5 separate regions of the Homo sapiens genome follow, and regions 1, 2, 3 and 5 are each linked to region 4. Evidence: promoter capture Hi-C in 16 types of primary human blood cells and fetal thymus (Javierre and others, 2016). All regions are on one chromosome and are shown on one strand. Each heading gives the region's core, a stretch centred on a gene start or on the middle of the fragment in contact. The rest is flanking DNA. Distances are from core to core; before and after follow the strand shown.

Region 1 (2,700 bases), core at 152-2,651, 110 kb after region 4:
GGGAAGGAGGCATATTTATGTGCAAGCTGCCAAATATTTGAGATAAGGACATAGTCTTTGAATGAAAAACAGGGATATGAGAGGATTGATTCAGTTAGCCGTCTTGGCCAACCCAAGTTAACTGTACTTCATCTTAGTCTATGTTGGTGTTAGAAACAACAAAAAGGAAAAAAAAAAGCCAAACAGTAGAGCAACAATTCATTCATTCATAAAAGTAATTACATGCCATCTAACTAATCACATGGTAAATAATTTAAATGGTTTAGAAGGGTATGAAAGAAAAAGTCCCACCCCTCTTCTTCCCAGCCTGTTCCCCAGATGTGACCACTGTTAACATACTTGTGTATCCTTCTAGATATATATATTTGTATCCTTTTAAAAAATTTATACAGATAGGATCGGAGTTCACATTTTGTTTTGCATCCTACTTTTTCACTTGTTGATAAACCATAGAACTCTTTTCATAGCAACACATATAGATTTAGCATAGTGTTTTAAGTGGTTACATAGCATTGATGTGCTCTAAGTTATTTAACCAGTCTTCTGTTGATAGCTATTTGGGTTGCTTCTGTTTTTTAGGTATTACAAATAAAAATAAAAAAGAACATCCTGATAGATATTTTTCTGCATAGTTATGCAAGTAAGTCCATGGGATCAACATCTATCCATGAAATGGCTATGAATTCTAAATTTTTATAGGTGTTTCTGTATTGCTTACTAAAAAAGGTTATGCCACTTTACGTACTCATCACCAACACATGAGAGTATGTTGACCTCTCCCTGAGTGAGTGAATGGCCGAAATAACAAATGAACGTGCATTAATGACTACCAGTTGTGTGGTAGCCTCCATGTGATGCCCTGGAAACAAAAAGATAAATAAGGGGCAGTGGTGTCTGGCCATAGGAGTTCACATTTTGTTGGGGAAGACAGGTGTATGGAGGGGGACGATGGATAAGGAGTGGTTAGGATCAAGGTTTTGGTCTTAGGTGGAGTTGAGTCTAGTTACTGACTGCTGCATACTAGCTGAGTGGACATGAGTAAACCCCTTCACCTAAGCCTCTGATCATTTGAAAATGAGGGTAATAATATCTGCTTCACTAGATTGTTTTGAAGATTAAATAGGAAATTTACATAAAGCTTTTAGTACAATGCCAGTGCATATAAGTGCTTGATGATGATGATGACGACGATGACTATTCCACATGAACTAGTGATTTCAGTCCTGGTGCTAAGGATCCCATTGGGATGTGCCCAGAGTGCTCTGGGAACACAAGATGGAGATTTCTCTTTGCCTAAAGTGCATGAGAAGGCTTCAGAAGGGAAGTTGTAATTAAGTCTTTAACTTTGAATAGTGGTTTGCCATGAGGTTGTATCAGAAGGAAACATACCCCTTTTAATAAGTCTCTCAAGAAAGTACACTGTAACCGGAAACCTCATTAATATATTGAAAAAGTTATTCTCAGAAGAAATTCATTGTGGGCATCTGTGTGAATTTTCAACCTTGGAAGTAACTTAATTTTGTCTTATCAGTATTTCTGGTTTTGTTTTGAAGTACTAATCAAAAAAAAAATCCTTAAATTTTAATTTCTCCTTGCTTCTTTGAAAAGTTATAATGGTTAAAATACACTACTTATGAAAATTTCAAAATATATACTAAGCTTTCTAAAATGTTTTTTAACCTTTCTAATTCATCTTTTGTAAAGTGCTGTTCTTTGCCCCATTTCTTTCCGGGAATTTATCTTTCTCTTGGTATTCATTTATTTTTTTCCAGGTTGGTAACAATTCTTTATATATTAAAAGATTAACCATTAGTCTGTCATGTATGCTGCAAATAATTTGTATCCATTTTTTTTTTTTTGAGATGGAGTCTCGCTCTGTTGCCCAGGCTGGAGTGCAGTGGTGCGATCTCTGTTCACTGCAAGCTCTGCCTCCTGGGTTCACGCCATTCTCCTGCCTCAGCCTCCCGAGTAGCTGAGACAACAGGCACCCGACACCACACCCGGCTAATTTTTTGTATTTTTGGTAGAGGCAGGGTTTCACCATGTTAGCCAGGATGGTCTCCATCTCCTGACCTCGTGATTTGCCCACCTCGGCCTCCCAAAGTGCTAGGATTACAGGCGTGAGCCACCACGCCTGGCCAATTTGTATTCATTTTTAAACCTTTTTCTTAACTTTTTGTATTTTGAGGGCGAGGATACAGATGTTTTAAAATGTTATTAGTAAAGTTTATTAATGTTTTCTTTTAGGATTTTTGCCTTTGGCTTTATTTTTAGGAGTTCTTACTTCACTTGAGTTTATATAAATCATCATCATTTTATCTTAGTATTTTGTGTTTTTAAATATTAAAGTCTTAATCCTTTTTGAATTTTTATTTGAATCCCTATGTATACAGGGAGAGAAAATAAGGGTTTTTTTTTTTTTTTTTTTTTGACATGTATTCTCTCTCTGTCTTCCAGCCTGGAGTGCAGTGGCACAATCTTGGCTCACTGCAACCTCTGCCTCCTGGGTTCAAGCAATTCTTCTGCCTCAATCTCCCGAGTAGCTGGGATTACAGGCTCCCGCCATTATGCCTGGCTAATTTTTGTATTTTTAGAAGAGACGGGCCTTCACCATGTTGGCCAAGCTGGTCTCGAACTTCTGACCTCAGGTGATCTGCCCGCCTCGGCCTCCCAAAGTGCTGGGGTTACAGGCATGAGCCA
Region 2 (2,700 bases), core at 73-2,572, 98 kb before region 4:
GGACCTGCTTGAAAGAACATCAAGATGATTACCATTTTAGGTAGCAAACAGGTTAAAATTAAGAGTTAGCTTATTTCATTTCTAAATCAGCAGCAGCAGAAAACAACAGCAAAAACAAAAAGAAAGCAATGTCACAACCATAAAATGTATAACCGAGATAATATGAAAACAATATTGCTTCTCAGGAACAAGGAGCCTGCAAAAAGCTCTGGAGCTCCCTGATTGCATGCAGTAACAACACTTTTTAAGCATCAAGTATTCAAAGATGTATTGTATATTATTTGTGGAAGCCCAGAAAGTTTCCCAAATCTTATCAGCTAAAAACAATTTAGAAGAGAACAAGCCACTGAACAATTTGGTCCCACTTCACTTTTGATTAAAAAGACCCTACTTACATAAAGAATCAATATCTAGACTATTAGGAACAACTTTTGGCAGAATATATACAGAACAGGGCAAACACTTTCTTAGAATTTTGAAGGATTCCATATAGTTCAAACTGCTCTTCCTACAAAAGAAATTAATCCTGGGCATTTTCTCTGGCACGACTGGTGGTTTATTGTAGTAGTTGATAAAAAGACCACCCTGACATTAGCAAAACATAACTGGGATCACTAAGGATAAACTCTGAAAAACACCTCAATGGGGAATAAAAAATAAAAAAATATGGCCAGGTGTGGTGGCTCACGCCTGTAAATCCCAGCACTTTCGGAGGCAGAGGCAGGTGGATCACAAGGTCAGGAGTTCAAGACCAGCCTGGCCAAGATGGTGAAACCCCGTCTCTACTAGAACTACAAAAATTAGCCTCGTGCAGTGGCAGGTGCCTGTAATCCCAGCTACTTGGGAGACTGAGGCAGGAGGATTGCTTGAACCCGGGCAGCAGACATTGCACTCCAGCCTGGGCTATAGAGTAAGACTCTGTCTCTAAATAAATAAATAAATAAATAAATAACAAAAAATAAAAAAAATATTTCCCTGGCAAAAGTAAGATATATTTGAGCCTGCAATTCCTGGTGTATCTCTCCTGACTCCTTAGGGAAAAGATTACAAGGTGTGTATGAGGAGTTGGGGAGTTTGAATGAATGGCATATGAGGTCAAACACTGAACACAAAGGAAACATTAAGGAAACATACAAATAAGCAAGCATAAACCAAGCCGATAGGATAAGGTATCTTTCTACAAAAAAACAGTACATTGCTTTGTTTTAGGTCTCAAGGGATAAACAAGGTCACTGATTAATGCAAAATAAAAAGAAACAGGGATCACAATAGTGAGACAAAAATAAAAGAGAAGGCATTTATAATACTCAACTATTAAGATTTTAAGTCATAAATTTTCATGTGCCAAACAACATATCATAGATCATCTAAGAAAAAGTGCTAGACATAGAAAAACTAAGAGAAAATAGACTGGCCAACTTTAAATTCTCTCTCTCCTTGGAGGCCTAAACCAGAAAAAAATAAATAAAATATTACATAAAAGACGAAGACTCATTCTTTATATAGTTACTGAAAGAGCTTTTCTCAACCATTTTAATCAGTCACAAAGAAAACAATTCTGAAAAGCAAAAGCTGAATAGGTAACATTCTCTGTAAACTATGCAATAACATTCAAAAGTTAACAGAGTTAGTTTATTCATTCACCAAATCTTTTGAACGTCTGTTATGCGCTGAAGATACCACAGTAAATAAAATGGATATAGTCCCTACCACTGTACAAACTTATGGTCGAGTCAGACCAGTGCTGTCTCACAGAAACATAATGAGAGCCACATGTGGTTTTCTATTTCCTAGTAGTCACATTGAAATTTAAAAATTGGCTGGGCACGGTGGCTCACGCCTGTAATCCCAAGACTTTCAGAGGCCAAGGCAGACAGATTACTTGAGCTCTAAAGTTCAAGACCGGCTGAGCGCGGTAGCTCACGCCTATAATCCCAGCACTTTGGGAGGCCACAGTGGGCGGATCACCTGAGGTCAGGTGTTCGAGACCAGCCTGGCCAATATGGCGAAACCCAGTCTCTACTTAAAATACAAAAATTAGCCAGGCGTGGTGGCACTCGCCTGTAATCCCAGCTACTCCGGAGGCTGAGGCAGGAGAATCACTTGAACCCGGGGGCTGGAGGCTGCAGTTAGCCGAGATCGTGCCACTGTACTCCAGCCTGGGCAACAGAGCGAGACTCCATCTCAAAAAAAAAGTTCAAGACCAGCCTGGGCAACACAGTGAAACCCCATCTCTACAAAAAATTTTAAAAATTTTTAAAAATTATACAGGCATGGTGGCGCGCCTGTAGTCCCAGCTACTTAGGAGGCTGAGGTGGGAGGATCCCTTGAGCCAGGGAGGTTGAGACTACAGTGAGCCAACATCACATCACTGCACTCCATCCTGGGCGACAAAGGCAACACCATGTCTCAAAAACAAACAAACAAACAAACAAAAAAAAAAAAAACAGGCCAGGCGCGGTGGTGCTCGCCTGTAGTCCCAGCTACTTGGGAAGCAGAGGCAGGAGAATCACTTGAACCCAGGAGGCAGAGGTTGCAGTGAGCCGAGATTGTGCCACTGCACTCCAGCCTGGGCAACAGAGTAAGATTCCGTCTCAAGAAAAAAAAATTTTTTTAATTAAGAAATAAAATTAACAGTAATAGTATATTTTAACACAATACATGTAAAATATCACTACTTCAATATGTAATATTTTAAAA
Region 3 (2,700 bases), core at 158-2,657, 65 kb after region 4:
ACTAGTTTTTAGTAGCAAAAATGAACCTGTAAAAGAATGTAGGTTTTAAGGCTTTGGTAATATAAGTTATTTCTTTCTTATTTATTTATTTATTTTTAAGAGAGTTTCATTCTGTCGCCCAGGCTGGAGTGCAATGGCGCGATCTCGGCTCACTGCAACCTCTGTCTCCCAGGTTCAGGTGAGTCTCCTGCCTCAGAGTCTGGAGTAGCTGGGAATACAGGTGGCTGCCACCACGCCTGGCTAATTTTTTTGGTGCTTATTTTTAGTAAAGATGGGGTTTCACCATGTTGGCCAGGCTAACATAATACTTCTTTGTAAAAAAAGTTTTTGTAAATGTTTTATGTAAAATGTTTTATATGAGCATACATATATGTACATATATGTACATGTATGTTTATGTATTTTATATATACATAAAAATCTTGCATACATATATTTACATGTGTATATGTAAAAACAGTACATGGTGGTAATTCTGCAACTTTTTTTATCCAAAGGTATTTAAAATAGTATTATTAAAAGTGCTATGTATATTCTAATGTATGTAAATGCTGTAGAGTATCTGGCCATTTGTGGCTGATAGCTGTTTAGGTTATTTCAGGTTTGTTATCACACACAGTGCTTTATTGAATGTCATTTTTCCTCATGCATGTGTGTAGTTTTCTAGGGTGGATGTTGGGTTGTAGATGCTGGGTCATGGTGTACGTACATTTTTTCATTTACTAGGTCCTTGCCTTCCAAAGTGGCTCCACCAAGTTACACTCCCATCAGCAGCTTGTTAGAGTATCCATGTCTCCCTACCCCAGCTGACTAATGTTAGTTTGTAGCAATCTGTTATACTTTCCTTAATTTGTTGGGCTAAAAAACTGCAGAGTTTATCTTGTTTTAATTCTTGTTTCCTTGATTCCCAGTAAGGTTAAATATTTTTCCATTTGAGCATCTTTTCATATATTAACTGATCATTTGTAAATCTTATGCAGGGAATTGCCTGTTTATATCCTTTGCCCATTTTCCTATTATTTGGTCTGTTATTGATTTGTAGGAATTCTTTGAATATTCTGGATACAAATTATTTTTATATATGTGGCAGTTATCTTTAGTTTGCTGATTATTAAGATTATTATTATTTTTTTGAGACGGAGTCTCACTCTGTCTCCCAGGCTGGAGTGCAGTGGTGCGATCTCAGCTCACTGCAAGCTCCGCCTCCTGGGTTCACACCATTCTCCTGCCTCTGCCTCCCGAGTAGCTGGGACTACAGGTGCCCGCCACCACGCCTGGTTAATTTTTTGTATTTTTAGTAGAGACGGGGTTTTACCGTGTTAGCCAGGATGGTCTCAATCTCCTGACCTTGTGATCCACCCGCCTTGGCCTCCCAAAGTGCTGGGATTACAGGCGTGAGCCATCGCGCCCGGCCTGCTGATTATTCTTTAAAGCTGACAATGTCTTCGGTCATTATAGCCGTTTAAATATTTGTTGCGATCAAATTTATTGATCTTTTACTTGATGCCTTTTTCATTTTGTTTAAGGCCTTCCTGCATGATAGAGCTTACTGAAGCTACTCCCCTTTCTTAGTCATCTTCTTTCTGGAACTTAGTTCTTTCTAACTGAGCCTGACTGAGGCTGGGCGAAGCATGTGAAATGTTTTGTCATGTTTTCTTCTAGTTGGCTGTGGGAGGCTATACTTGAGGACTGGTGGAAATTTCAGCTGCACTGTGTAGATTTCAGGTGAAGGCAAACGTTGTCTGGCACAGAGGACCACAGATGAGCCTGCAGAGAAATACTCTACTAGTTTGCCGGCTCTATGTGGTTTTGGATTGTATTTCCAATGCCTAGCTTAGTACTTGGAACACACAGACAGTGAATAAATATTACTTAAAAATTTAACTTCTCCACAATAAATTTTGTGAGCTTCTGGAACTCATTGTTAGCAAAGGCTGTGGAATCTTGTCTGTGAGAATTTCTAGTAGTACCCTCATCTTTCGAGGGTGGTACACTCATGTAAACATGAGTGCAGTTGCATGAATCTCTCCCGAGTGTAGATACAAATACACACATTGCCTGCATGTGCACACACTCAGCCTTTCTAAAGTTTCCAAGCTCTTTAAAAAAACAAAAAACAAAAAACACCTGAATAGTTCAGGTTGTAGACATGAAATAAATACTCTTGAAGATGTCATTTCAAAGCAATCTATGTGCTCCTTTTCCAGCTCAGATGAGACATTGATCTTAAGGAAAGGAAAGGCAGTGCTTTTTTGGGTTAGTACAAACTGACATGGAAAACTGTTACCTTCTTTTCATAGTGATGTTGACAAATCTGCTCAAATGAATGAATTTACTCTTGAATGATTCATTTCAGGGGAAATGGCACAATCACTTCCTTATGCTAGTAGTCAGTGGCCCGCAAGAAGAGGTAAGAGTAGAGGAGGCACTCACAACTTTATCAAGATGTGAGCACTGGCTTTAACTTGCCTGAAAAAACTCTCAAGAAATCACTGATCATAAAACATACAATCTATAATTTTTTTTTTTTTTTTTTTTGAGACGGAGTCTCGCTCTGTCGCCCAGGCTGGAGTGCAGTGGCGTGATCTCGGCTCACTGCAAGCTCCGCCTCCCAGGTTCCTGCCATTCTTCTGCCTCAGCCTCCCGAGTAGCTGGGACTACAGGCGCCCACCACCACGCCCGGCTAATTTTTTGGATTTT
Region 4 (2,700 bases), core at 63-2,562:
AGGGTATTTTTTTCTTCCCTCTCGGTATCATCCTTACTCAATTACAAATGATCAAGGGCGGTACTGCCAGAGTCACCTCGAGAGGCCCTGTTCTCTGCCACCCAGGCTGTTTTGTAGTCTCCATTCCAAATTGTCGTTACTCCGGTTTACCCCGTGGATGGCGTTTAAGACTTTTCTTAAATTTGAAATTCACAGAACCATTTTAAAGTGAACAATTCAGTGGCATTTAGTACCTTCGCAGTGTTGTGCAACTTCCACCTCTATCTAGCTGCAAAACATTTTCTTTTCTTTTTTTTTTTGGAGACAGAGTCTCGCTCTGTTGCCCAGACTGGAGTGCAGTGGCGTGATCTTGGCTCACTGCAACTTCTGTCTCCCGGGTTCAAGCAATTCTCCTGCCTCAGCCTCCCGAGTAGCTGGGATTACAGGCACACGCCACCCGCCTGGCTAATTTTTTGTATTTTAGTACAGACGGGGATTTACCATATTGCCCAGGCTGGTCTCAAACTCCTGAGCTCAGGCAATCCGCCCGCCTTGTCCTCCCAAAGTGCTAGGATTACAGGCGTGAGCCAACGCGGCCGGCCTTGTAAAACATTTTCATCACACAAAAGAAAACCTTCTACCCATTAAGCAGTTACTCCTTCCTCTTCTCAGCCCCTGTCAACCACCAATTTGCTTTCTATCCTATGGATTTAACTGTCTGGATATTTCATAGAAATAGAATCACATAATGTATGACCTTTTCTGTTTGGCTTCTTTCTATTAGCCTAATGTTTTTGAGGTTCATTCCTGTTGAAGCATGTATCAGTTCTTCATTCCTTTTTTGGGATGAATAATGTTCCATAATTTATTTATCCTTTCGTCTGTTGATGAACATTTGAGTTGTGTCCACATCTTGGCTATTGTGAATAGTGCTGCCATGTACATTCGTATGTAAGTATTTGAGTATCTGTTGGGTGTATACCTATGAATGGAATTGCTGGGTCTTTTGACAATTCTGTATTTAACTTTTTGAGAAACTGCCAACATTTTCACAGGGGTTGTACCATTTCACATTCCCACCAGCAATCTACAAGGATTCTAATTTCTCCACATCCTGCATTTAAGACTTGCAAAGCTGAATTAATCACAGGATGAGGAAGTGGCTTCTCTGAAACATTTTCCTCTTTCACATTTTAAACTTTCTCTTTCATACATGACATGAAACACAGCCTACGCACGAAAGTGACTAGGAGGAAGGATATTATAAAGTGATGCAAACAGAAATTCCACCAGCCTCCATGTATCATCATGTGTCATAACTCAGTCAAGCTCAGTGAGCATTCTCAGCACATTGCCTCAACAGCTTCAAGGTGAGCCAGCTCAAGACTTTGCTCTCCACCAGGCAGAAGATGACAGACTGTGAATTTGGATATATTTACAGGCTGGCTCAGGACTATCTGCAGTGCGTCCTACAGATACCACAACCTGGATCAGGTCCAAGCAAAACGTCCAGAGTGCTACAAAATGTTGCGTTCTCAGTCCAAAAAGAAGTGGAAAAGAATCTGAAGTCATGCTTGGACAATGTTAATGTTGTGTCCGTAGACACTGCCAGAACACTATTCAACCAAGTGATGGAAAAGGAGTTTGAAGACGGCATCATTAACTGGGGAAGAATTGTAACCATATTTGCATTTGAAGGTATTCTCATCAAGAAACTTCTACGACAGCAAATTGCCCCGGATGTGGATACCTATAAGGAGATTTCATATTTTGTTGCGGAGTTCATAATGAATAACACAGGAGAATGGATAAGGCAAAACGGAGGCTGGGTATGTGTGATGGAAAAATTCTTCATTGTTCTTTCCTGTGAAATAGAAATTGAGAATTTCCTTGCTAGTTAAAACAACAACAAAACACTTTACCTAAGAATACTATTTTCCTTGGGTGGTTTGTTTTAATTTTTAAAATAAAAATATACTTTCTGGCTTATTTCCAATGAATCCTTGAACTTGAACTTTATAGTTGGAAAGCACTTATGTTTTCAGTTTTTATTCTTAACAGTATAAATTACAGTAGTGAGCTTTGGGGATTAATAAAGCACCTCTCTCATGCAGCTTCACAATCAGCTGTGCACACACTCTAATCTAGTACTTAGCTTTTGCTAGGGTTGTCATGACAGTACAGACAGTACAGAAATTTCTACAATCAGCACAGAAAGTTGCTATCAGATGCTGTTATTTTTAGGTATTTATGGGTTGCAAAAGACAGGTGTAAATTTTTGTAAGTTCATCGCTTACAAATTGGTGTTTTTCAGTTTACTAATACATAATAAATAGTAACATATATTAATATATAGCAAATTACATTACATATAATATATAACACATTATTACTAATAATAAATTCCGGGCTGTTAAAGTTTGTTGATTAAAACATAATATACTGTATGACCAGCAAGAACCTTTATTCAAGAATTTTCAAATAAAAATTTACTTTATTATCAGTGCCTAAAAAAGCCAAGACTATGTAGAGGCCTGTGTTGAAACTCATGTTGGTAAAAAGCCTGACACAGCTGGATGTATATGGTTTCCTTTATATTCCAATATACTTAATAATTATTTTTTTAAAGCACTTAAGTGTTCATTGATCCTCTCTCCAACGGCCTTCACCTCTCCCAAGAGGTAACCACTGTTATCAATTATTTTGCATGCAAAACATGCC
Region 5 (2,700 bases), core at 190-2,689, 93 kb after region 4:
CTAATTTACTGTTGGATGAAGTAGGCAGCAAATCATGAGATGGAAATTGAACAGAAACAAAAAATATCTTCCTAACTGCCCATGTCATTACTTTGGGTTAAAGCAGTCAAATCCACTGTAAAAATTTAAGTGTTCTTTGGGTGTAGTGACACAGGGAACCAGAATCACTTGTAAGAAGTCCTGTGATTAATTAAAAAACAAGAAAGAGCTAGGAAAGAAATTTTGATTTTAGTCAGAGTTTTGTGTGTATATATGTGTGCATGTGTGTGTGTATATGCATGTGCTGTGTATAAAATGGGTCATGATGTTTTTCTTACTGAGTTTCTAAAATGTTTGAAAGCCACTGATTTAGGCCTCTGCTTCTCAAGAAGGCATGCATCTATTACAGGCCTTATTGGGTAAATTTTCTTCAACTATTAATTTTACTTCAACATTTTAGCAGAAACAAACCAGAAAAACAAACATATAAACATACAAACCACACATTAGTTTTATAACAAATACAATCACAAAGGTAGCATATAGAAGATAAATAAAATTCACAAATTTTAAGGAAAAAAATTAGCTGGGCATGCTGGTGGGTGCCTGTAATCCCAGCTACTCAGGAGGCTGAGGCAGGAGAATTGCTTGAACCCAGGAGGCGGAAGTTGCAGTGAGCCAAGATCACACCATTGGACTCCAGCCTGGGGGACAGAGTGAGACTCTGACTCAAAAAAAAAAAAAAAAAAAAAAAAGGGTAATAATTTAAAGGTAAAACACAAAATATTAAAGCAAAAACTTTGCCTCTGTGGGCAGGCCTGCAGGCAGACCCTCCAGGGATTTTAACTTTCTCTGCAGTTACCTTAGTGAAAAATTTGGGAAGTACTGGTCATTTAGTGGAATTTCAAAATTCCACTAATGGATGATACAAATGAAAAGCATGATACAAATGAAAATGAAAATTTTTTGTGTTAAATTTTTTTTGATGTGCTGTTTTAGTTCCTCTGTTGATTTTTAAGCTATGTATTAAATTGTTTTTGCAGTTTCTGGAGGGATTACATCTTTTATTTAGTACAGTCTGTTTCAGATTAGTATTCATCTGACTCCAGTAAAATACAGCAACTTTGCTCTTATATAATTCCATTCTTCCTTCCCCATTTATGTTATTATTGTCATATTGAGGCAGGAAATTAAAGAAAGAAAGAAAAAAAAAAAGGGAATAAGCTTTCCTGTGCTAGGCTGACTTGTCCCAGAGGCAGCAACAAGCACAGCTGAAACCCAGGAAAAGTCTTGATAATACTATCTAAGAAGCCAGGACACAGAAGAATGTGCTCTGGAGACTCTCCCACCACTCCCTCCACATAGGGAGAAGAAAAACAAATTTCTCTTTGTTTTACAGTATGAGTTTATAGATTCCTGTTCCCTGTAACTAGTGACTTCTAGTATTCTGTTTTATCTAAGCAGTGGAGTGATGGTCATAAAGCAACTGAGCAGGCCTGAGATACGGCCACCTGGGCACCATAGTGAAGGCCATGGAATAAGCCTTGCTAGGCACTACGGCAAACTAGATAATGGCCATCTGAGTTGCATAGCAATGGTCATGTGTAATCCTGAGTTATGAACCTGTTACAATTTGATTAACCGTCTTGTCTTGCCTCTGTATCCTTGCTTTTGCTTTGCGCCAGTGTAAGCTTGACTCAAGTTAGCCCATCCCCTTTTAGAAGTGTGTATAAGCGTCAAGTGCTGTCTTTGTTCTTGGCTCAGTTTTTGGATGTTGAGTCTGCTGGGTCTGAGTGCACTCAGAAAAGATCCTCCTGGTTTACCCCGAGGTCTCTCTTGTCCTCCTAATTCACACGACAGTATAAGTTACATCTGTATGTACTATAAATCTAACAAATAGTATTATAATTATTGCTTTAAGAACTCTTATGTTTTAAAAAGGAATAGAAGAAAAGAGAAAAAACCAGTCTTTTGTGTTTACCTTCCTACTTACTGTTTCCAGTGTTCTTCATTCTTTCCTGTGAATTCAAGTTACCATCCAGTGTAATTTCCTTTTGGCCCAAAGGATTTTCTTTAGTCTTTCTCAGACAGCTCTGCCAGTAATTAATTCTCTCAGTTTTTGTTTATCTAGGAATGTCTTATTCTGCCTCTATTTTTGAAAGGGTTTTGCTGAATATGAAATTCTTAGTTGACATATGTATTTTTTTTCCTTTCAGCATGTTCAATGTTATTCTTCTGCCTTGTGGCCTCCATTGTTTCTGATGAGAAGTCATCATTCATTCTATTTTTGTATTTCCCTTTTTATAATAAGTTATTTTTCTCTTTCAGCAGTTTGACTCTGATGTGTAAAAATGTAGATTTCTTTTCTTTTTTTTTTGAGATAGAGTCTCGCTCTGTCACCAGGCTGAAGTGCAGTGACATGATCTTGGCTCACTGCAGCCTCTGCCTCCCGGGTTCAAGCAATTCTCCTGCCTCAGCCTCCCAAGTAGCTAGGACTACAGGTGTGCACTGCTACGCTTGGCTAATTTTTTTGTATTTTTAGTAGAGATGGGGTTTCACCATGTGGGCTAGGATGGTCTTGATTTCCTGACCTCGTGATCCACCCGCCGTGGCTTCCCAAAGTGCTGGGATTACAGGCATGAGCCACCGTGCCTGGCATGTGTAGATTTCTTTAGTTTTATCCTATATGGGATTTATTGAGCTTCTTGGGTCTGTAGATTA

The links. The method cuts DNA at HindIII sites, captures the fragments that hold promoters and counts their contacts. A CHiCAGO score of 5 or more calls a contact.
Region 1: a fragment that was not itself captured here is called in contact with the fragment with the promoter of BCL2A1 in region 4 in 6 of 17 cell types (activated CD4 T cells, neutrophils, total CD8 T cells and 3 more); the score reaches 7.5 in activated CD4 T cells.
Region 2: a fragment that was not itself captured here is called in contact with the fragment with the promoter of BCL2A1 in region 4 in 1 of 17 cell types (neutrophils); the score reaches 6.8 in neutrophils.
Region 3: a contact is called between a fragment that was not itself captured here and the fragment with the promoter of BCL2A1 in region 4, in 3 of 17 cell types (monocytes, neutrophils and total B cells). The highest score is 12.1, in monocytes.
Region 5: a contact is called between a fragment that was not itself captured here and the fragment with the promoter of BCL2A1 in region 4, in 3 of 17 cell types (neutrophils, monocytes and activated CD4 T cells). The highest score is 7.1, in neutrophils.

Annotation. Positions count from the first base shown.
Region 1 is chr15:79,859,548-79,862,247 of GRCh38, reverse strand. The region is part of intron 3 of ST20-MTHFS (ST20-MTHFS readthrough); the gene reads left to right. The region is part of intron 2 of MTHFS (methenyltetrahydrofolate synthetase); the gene reads left to right. Among named protein-coding and RNA genes, the nearest start is that of MTHFS, 36 kb to the left of the region's middle. The HindIII fragment of the contact is 521 bases long and covers 1,141-1,661 here.
Region 2 is chr15:80,067,876-80,070,575 of GRCh38, reverse strand. The region is part of intron 1 of ZFAND6 (zinc finger AN1-type containing 6); the gene reads right to left. Among named protein-coding and RNA genes, the nearest start is that of ZFAND6, 9.6 kb to the right of the region's middle. The HindIII fragment of the contact is 4,201 bases long and covers 1-2,700 here.
Region 3 is chr15:79,905,107-79,907,806 of GRCh38, reverse strand. ST20-MTHFS (ST20-MTHFS readthrough) reads left to right here. Exons shown (of 4, transcript NM_001199760.2): 2 at 123-178. The coding sequence starts at 134. It overlaps ST20 (suppressor of tumorigenicity 20), which reads left to right. Exons shown (of 3, transcript NR_037653.2): 2 at 101-178. Among named protein-coding and RNA genes, the nearest start is that of MTHFS, 9.4 kb to the right of the region's middle. The HindIII fragment of the contact is 6,214 bases long and covers 1-2,700 here.
Region 4 is chr15:79,969,808-79,972,507 of GRCh38, reverse strand. BCL2A1 (BCL2 related protein A1) reads left to right here and starts at 1,312. Exons shown (of 2, transcript NM_004049.4): 1 at 1,312-1,808. The coding sequence starts at 1,389. RefSeq lists an enhancer at 689-1,888. The HindIII fragment of the contact is 17,831 bases long and covers 1-2,700 here.
Region 5 is chr15:79,877,356-79,880,055 of GRCh38, reverse strand. All of the region lies in intron 3 of ST20-MTHFS (ST20-MTHFS readthrough), which reads left to right. All of the region lies in intron 2 of MTHFS (methenyltetrahydrofolate synthetase), which reads left to right. Among named protein-coding and RNA genes, the nearest start is that of MTHFS, 18 kb to the left of the region's middle. The HindIII fragment of the contact is 467 bases long and covers 1,206-1,672 here.